Linked DNA regions of Homo sapiens: region 2 is linked to region 1. Evidence: promoter capture Hi-C in human tissues and cell types (Jung and others, 2019). All regions are on one chromosome and are shown on one strand. Each heading gives the region's core, a stretch centred on a gene start or on the middle of the fragment in contact. The rest is flanking DNA. Distances are from core to core; before and after follow the strand shown. Region 1 holds the start of LRRC32 (leucine rich repeat containing 32). Region 2 has its middle 10 kb from the start of ACER3.

Region 1 (3,935 bases), core at 741-3,240:
CCCCCAGCCCACCATAGCCCCAGCCCCGCCCTCCTGGGCCCTAGCAGAAGCTCTGCCATGGCCCAGTGATTTCTGCTTGGTAGCAGCTCCGGGAAGGGTGAGGCAGTGCTCAGCGAGCCTGGGTCTGGATGGCTGGGAGCTGGTCTGATACACAAGGCCAGGAACTGCCCGAATGATCCAGTCACTCTGCTCATACTGCAGGGCAGCTTCAAAGCACTTTCCTGAACATTTGGCCCCTTGGACAGGGACCTGGAAAAGGAAGCCCACAGGATATAGGAGTATCCACCAACTGCCACAATAAAGGCAGTGAGAAGTTGCCTAACAACCACTGGGTGCAGGCTCCAGCTGGATCCATTGCACTTAGTTCTAGCACCAACTCCAAGTAGTAGCTACTATCTTTCCCACTTTACAGATAGGGGCACTGAGGTTCCATTTGACCAAATGGAGCACTAGAGACCAGAGAGGGGGCTGGATGGACCAGCTAGGACCCTGTGGACATAGATCTGAGGCCTTGGGTGGCTGGGAGGGAAGGGAAAGAGGTTTGGATACCCTTCGCAGGCCCTGCTGAGAGATTCCTTACCTGCACCTCCTGCCCATCCCCTCACTGCAGCTCAGGCCTCCTCCTTAGGGAAGCCTTCCCTGATTTCCTCTTCTAAGACTAGGTCAGGCCCCTATGGCACCTGCTATCATGGCTTGTCCTCTCTGGGTTGACCCCATCTCCCCAGATCCATCTCCACAGTGGACTGAACAGGGGTAAGAAAAGGCAGTAACTGTAGAGACTTCAGGGAATCCCGCTTCTGAGCCCAGCCTTACCCTGATTTGCCACAAGGCCCTGGGTGGTCACTTTCATGCATGTAAAATGGGGCACCCTGCCCCACTCTCAGGGCTGGTGACGATCAGGGAAGAGAAACACTGTGGAAGAGGCCCCTTCTACACTTGGAACCAGGACCTGGAGGACAGCCAGGGCCCCTCTCTTCTAGGGACCCGCATACTAGAGTCCACAGGCAGCAAGGCAGGGTACCTGTGATTTGGTAGGGTCAAGGCATCTAGAAGAGAGGTGGCTTTGGGAAAGATCTGCTTCAACCTCCAATCTAAATGACAATACCGCCACCCCATATTTGCACAGTACTTTAAAAATTCGGGCAAGATAATGCCCAAACTGAATCAGACTTAGCTTTATGAACAGATTGGGCTCAAATCACTGATTCTTATTAGCTGTGTTGACTTTGGACACGCCATTTAACCTTTTCTGAGCCTCAGGTTCCCCAGCTATAAATAGGGACCTTACTAGTCTCAGACAATTGGTTTTCATGTGTACACACTGCCCCCACCCCTAGCCTCAGCTTCTCCATCCGAAAACAGGACTTTGATGGTGCCGTTTCACAGGCTGTTGAAGGGTCCCGCAGATGATGGAGGAGTACGGGTCCAGACACTAGAGCACAATCCGGAGAGGAAAAGTGACCTGCCAGGACCCACCAGAGTGGACGGCTTGGTGCGGGGAACCCCCTCCGCGGCCGCCCCAGGGCCAGCGAAGGGTCATTTCCTTCCGCATTCAGCCCCGCCGTCACCTCGCCTGTTTGCCCCCGCGTTAAGTGCGGCGGCGCCAGCAGCTGGGAAATCGGGGCCAGGCCGGATTTCCTCTGTGGACCTGCGGCTCCTAGAGCCACCGCGCCCCCCTCCGGACCCCGCGGGGCCGCGAACTGCACGTGCGGCGGCCGCTGGGATGGGCCTCGCTCCCACGGCGCTTCCTCTGCAACCCCTCTCCCTCCCGCCCTCTCATCCCCCCACACTGGGCCCCCGCCCCTTCCCGGCCGAGGTCCCAGGGTGGTGAAGATGCTTCGCCGCCCCACCCCACTCCGCCCCCGCCGGCTCCGGATAAACCGAGGCACGGGGCCAGGCGCTAGGACCCCACGGCCTCGCCAGAGGGGGGCGTGGCGGGGCGGGCCGGCGGGAGAGGTATTTAAATTGCAGCCGGAGCGCGGGGGCTCCGGTGGGGCAGCTGAGCGGCCTGCTCCTCCTCGGGCCGTGACCCCGGGGTCTGGCGCGGGGTGGGACCCGGGGGCGGGTTTGCGCAAAATGTGCCGAGACTGCCCGGGAGAGGAGCTGCGGCCGCGCTGAGCCAGGTAGGAGCCGCCGGGCAGGCGAGGCTGGCCGGCCCTCGGGGGGCGCACTGTCGCGCGCCTCTAGCGAGCGCAAGGCGGGGGCTGGTCCCAAGGGACGCCCCCCAAACACTCCCCTCCCGCCATCCCCACTGCGCGCGTGGAGCCGGGGCTGACCCTCCCTCGGTCCCTGGGAGTTCCCCAGCGCTCCTGTCTTGGCGGATCTTTCCCGCAAAGGGGTGAGGCCGGCCTTCCCATTTGACAGCTGGGAAAACAATGGCCTGAAGACCGTGACTTGCCCAGGAACACACAGCTAGGCAAGGGCAAACCGGAATTTGAATTCAGGTTTCCTGCAACGCTCCGATCCCAGCCAGGCGTGGGGCTGCCCATCCCACAGCACTAGATGGCCTGCCCATTTCTCGTAGTGGGGTAGGGGGCACCCACCGCTCTCCAAGGGGCTCTGAACCCAGCCTTCTTCATGGGTGGTAAGATGTGAGGGGCCCCCACCCCCACGCCGAGCTGCCTGAAATTCCGCCATCACAGCCACATTCCTTTGGGTTAAGGTCTAATTCCCCCGTGGGATGCACATGTCTCCAGAACGAGGCTTGCCCTTAGTGATTCACTGCTTGACAGGAACGTCCGCAGCAGCTCTCCCAGGACCCCACTCTGCCAGTAAGTCAGCTGAGGCCGAGAGGAGGGAGAGAGGACCTCAGAGGCCAGACTGTGAGCTAGTCTGCCCTGCTCCTGCGTGTGAGGGGTCGTTGGCAGGGCTTAGGGAAGGAGACCTTGATTTGGTATAGTGGGAACATTTGCTTTGGAGACAGATGAACTGGATTCTGATCGTGACCCTGCTATTTTCTCCTTGTGTGACTTTGGGTAAGTCACTTCTCTGAGCCTCCTTTTCTTCATGGGCAAAAAAAAGACAGTTCTATTGGGGGCAGTCGGCTCAGCATGTGCTGGAGAAAACACAGTATTCAGGTCATGTAGAACTGGATAAATCCCAGCTCCAAAGCCCTTATGAGCTGGGTAACTCTGGGGGTAAGTCACTTCACTTTCCGGAAACTGTTTTCTCATCCGTAAAATGGGAATTACAGTAATTTCCTCAATAGGTGATTGTGAGAATTAAATGAGATGATATAGGTCAAGTGCTTAGAAGACTAACATCCTTAAATGTAGGGGTGGGCTTATTGTGGTAGTAGTCATTGCCCCCCGTACCCCTGCTCTTTCTCTCTCACTCTCTCTCTCTCTCTCACACACACACACACACACACACACACACACACACACACACATTCTTTGGCACTTTTCTGAGTTGGACTCCTGAGAGTCCGACTCTCCTGCCTCCTCTTGCCCAGGCCACTTGTCTGCAGGCTTGGGGCCTCCCCACTGAGCACACCTCACCTGGGATGCTCAGCCCTGCGAGGGTCACTGTGTCAGCTGGGAAGGACAGTGAGGATGCAGGGCACCTTCGCCACCATTCTTTGCCTGATCATCACAATAGTTGGGGTTGGCCAGTGGCAGAACTGGAACCCAGCTGCCTACCCTGCAGACAGGACACTGGGGCACCAAGAAAGGAAGGGACTTACCTTAGGGAGCAGAGCTGGTGAGTGGTGGGCTTTGGATGCAAGCCTGGGTCTAAGTGACACCGTCCTCCTTTTTGAGAGAGAGTAGTCTTTAAATGCTACACCCTGTACTTGGGCACCACTGAGGAGGGCCCACAGCTGAGGGGCCCTTCCCGTCAGATGCCAGGACAGAGTGCCCATGTGCTGCAGGGACGATCCCTTCTGGATGTGCACAGGGCCACCTTGGGGATAGAGTGGGGTTTGGCAGAGGAAG
Region 2 (3,641 bases), core at 15-2,514, 180 kb before region 1:
TCTGAGGTCAGGAGTTCAAGACCAGCCTGGCAAACATGGTGAAACCCCATCTCTACTAAAAATACAAAAATTAGCCAGGCGTGGTGGTGGGCTCCTGTAATCCCAGCTACTCGGGAGGCTGAGGCAGAGGATCACTTGAACCCGGGAGGTGGAGGTTTCAGTGAACCGAGATCGCACCACTGCACTCCAGCCTGGGCAACAGAGCAAGACTCCATCTCAAAAAGAAAAAAGAAAGAAAGAAAAAGGAATCAAGAATCACCTGGAATTTCATCATTTAGTAAACACTGATAATATTTTGGTGTATAACTAGCCAGATATTTTTCATACATATACATGTTTTATTAAAATAGTTATAAAATACAAATCATTTTGGAGCTTTCTGTTTTTACTTAAAATGCGTGATAAGTATTGAAAAATAAATGTTGTATGTACCTGCTGATGCTTATGCTTCCAGAAACATTATTAGACTAACCATCACTCCCAATTCCAGACTTTGAGGCTCTACTCTGATGCCATCCTGATGATCTCAGGAAGGCATTAGACCCCAGCAGCTGGACCCCAAGCCCCACTCTCCAGGCAGTGTTAGTGCTAGGGCCTGATTTTCTCATAAGGCCTGATTCTCTCATAAGACTTATTTTCTAAACTCAGAAGAAACTTGGATTACACAGAACAAAAGTCAATTTCAAGCTCCTTGAGCAAGCTAGACTTCCTGGGCCCCTTGTCTCCCAGGATTTCCCCTTGCAGACCTCTTCTATTACCTTCTATACCTCGGCCGCAGGCCACCTGCCATGTCTCCTGCCAGTGCCCCTATGTTCTCTCCCATTTTCTCCTGATTGGAGTCTCCTCTAGTTACATTACATCTTTGCAAAACTTGAATAAGTAAAAGCCAGTTTACATGGGAATCTGCAAAATGAATTGAACATCTATTATCAAGCAAGCTTAGTGTTGGGAATACAGAGTATTCCCAATTTTGACCTGGTAATAAATGAAATATGACAAAACACACAAAGCAAGTTAGTAAATTCACTTTCTAATAAATATTTAAGGAATCCCAGCTGTGTGTCAGGCACTATTCTGGGCACTAGAAGAGGAAAAACAGACAAATCTCCAAGGTCAAAATGGGGTTTTCTTGAGACTGAGTCTCACTCTGTTGCCCAGGCTGGAGTGCAATGGTGTGATCTTGGCTCACTGCAACCTCTGTCTCCGGGTTCAAGCAATTCTTCTGCCTCAGCCTCCCAAATAGCTGGGATTATAGGCGTGCACCACCATGCCCGGCTAAGTTTTGTATTTTTAGTAGAGATGAGGTTTTGCCATATTGGACAGTTTGGTCTGGAACTCCTGAACTCAGGTGATCCACTCGCCTCGACCTCCCAAAATGCTGGGATTATAGGCGTGAGACACTGCGCCCGGCCCGGGATTACCTTTTAAAATCTTTCTAACAATCCTGTGAATTAAGTACTACTTTTAGCCCTTGTTTACAGATGATGAAACTGACACAGTGAGGTTAGGTATTTCACCCAATGGCAGCCAGATCATAAGCAGCTGAGCCTAGGCTGGAATCCAGGCAGTCTGGTGCCAGAGGCCATGTTCTTCTCTGCTGTGCCAAGCTGGCTGTGTGAGCTTGGAAGAAAGGGCTGTGCTGGACAGAGAGAACTAGAGGTCTCCTTAGAGGCCAGCACTGTGTTTGGTTTTACTTTTTAGCTGAAGTGTAGGCAATGAGGCTTATGAGGTCTGCAGGGACAATGCCATCAAGGGCCTACAGGGTTTTAAGTAAGATCTTGATATGGGTATGTATGCAGAAGGGAGGACAGATTGACTGAATTGGGAAAGACTGAAGACATGGAGCCTGCAGAAGAGACTATTGCAGTGATAGGGTGAGTAGCAATAGTGATGGAGAGGAGAGGACAAATTCACCGATGTTTAGAGGGTAGAATCAACAGGAATTGGAGACAGACCTGTGGGGAAGGGTTGAAGGAGAAGAAAGTGGTAGGTTTCCAGCCATTCCTAGCTGCTAGGAAAACCAGAAAATTAATCTGGCTGTAGTAGATTGTTGTGGGTGGTTGGTCAGAGCAGAAGGCAGAGAAAGCATTTCTGGGCAAGAAACAGACTGTAAGGGCTTGAAAGGGCAAGAGAAAAACAGGCAGAATGAGACATTCGGAGTGGCTGAACTTGTGTGCAGACATGAGGGAGGAGTGAGGACAAATATCAGAGACTAGAGATGCAAAGGGTGGGGCCCAATATGCTGTGATAACGCATTTAGGGTTTATCTTAGTGTTCAAGAAAGGGAATAACATGTTTAAATCCACGTGTTAGAAGAAATAAGTTTTTGATGTGGGGATTTTTTGTAGTAGGGCAGGGTAAGGAGGAGGCGAGGGATCAGGAAAATCAGTTAGAAGGCTGTGGCAAATAATCTTGGCAAAGGATAGGACAGTCAGATTAAACTGCAACATAGGTCCTGGACAGTCCTTGTCCCAAATTTCCAGGAGAGAACTTCAGAGTTCCTTGCTTGGTGGAAGATAGAGAAGAGCTGAAGTTTACCAAGTGAGCTCCTGAGCCCAAAATACGCCACACCCTGGGAGGTAAGTCACCACACACACGAACAGAGTCAACAGCCTGTTTCCACCTGGAAAGCTGTTACAAAATAAATTTGATGAAGTTGAGTATTAATTGAATAGCTCTAATTTGATTGTTTTGTTTTGAATGAGGTTATGGAAACATCAACAATTTTTAAAGTACCCTAAAGATGCTTGCCCTGTGAACAGGAATTCCTTCCTTTCCGCATTGCCTATAAGCCAAGCCCTCTCTTTTCTTTAACTCATAATTTCTATCTGTGCATAGGTGGATGTCTGGTTTTCTTGTATCTACCCTAGCACTGTTACAGTCTAGAGGCTGACCCAAATCTCTATCTCTAACCCAGATCAGTTTCCACAGCTTCGGCTCTTCAATCAGTTAGGATCATGTTTTGCTGCAGGCGACAGAAAATTAGTTCCAGTGCCTTAACCAAAGAAGGGTTTGTTTTTCTCAGGCAGTAGACAGTCCAGGGCCCTGCCACAGCTCCACAGTGCCAGAATCCTTCTTCTTGCTCTGCCCCCTTAGGGTATGGTCTTCAGCCTCATGGTCACAAGATGGCTGCTTCTTGTCTAAGAAACCCAACTCTGTTTGGGTAAGACAAAGGAAGAAGGGCAAGGGTAAAAAGCAAATGCCAGCCAGGGCTGTCCATTGCTATCATGAAAACAATAGCCAGGCCAGGCACGGTGGCTCATACCTGTAATCCCAGTACTTTGGGAGGCTGAGGCAGGAGGATCACTTGAGCACAGGAGTTCAAGACCAGCCTGGGTAACACAGTGAGACCCTGTCTCTGAAGAGAGAAAGAAAGAAAGAAAGAAGAAAGAAAGAAAGAAAGAAAGAAAGAAAGAGAGAAAGAGAGAAAGAGAGAAAGAGAGAAAGAAGGAAGGAAGGAAGGAAGGAAGGAAGGAAGGAAGGAAAGCAAGCAAGCAAGCGGGGAGGGAGAGAGGGAGAGAGGGAAGGAGGGAAGTGAAGGAAACAGCCTCTTCAGAACCTACACCCATTGATATCCACTTAGAACTCTTTGGTTGGAACAGGGGTCTCATGACCAACCATAAATAGTCTGGGAAGACTGG

Evidence for each region. Contacts are between HindIII fragments. The study calls those that stand out against the background at their distance.
Region 2: a contact is called between a fragment that was not itself captured here and the fragment with the promoter of LRRC32 in region 1, in 1 of the 25 tissues and cell types used here (stomach).

The regions. Positions count from the first base shown.
Region 1 is chr11:76,668,802-76,672,736 of GRCh38, reverse strand. LRRC32 (leucine rich repeat containing 32) reads left to right here and starts at 1,990. Exons shown (of 3, transcript NM_001128922.2): 1 at 1,990-2,123. RefSeq lists silencers at 1-113, 1,846-2,045, 2,106-2,235. The HindIII fragment of the contact is 10,955 bases long and covers 1-3,935 here.
Region 2 is chr11:76,848,910-76,852,550 of GRCh38, reverse strand. No RefSeq gene overlaps it. Among named protein-coding and RNA genes, the nearest start is that of ACER3, 10 kb to the left of the region's middle. The HindIII fragment of the contact is 4,177 bases long and covers 1-3,352 here.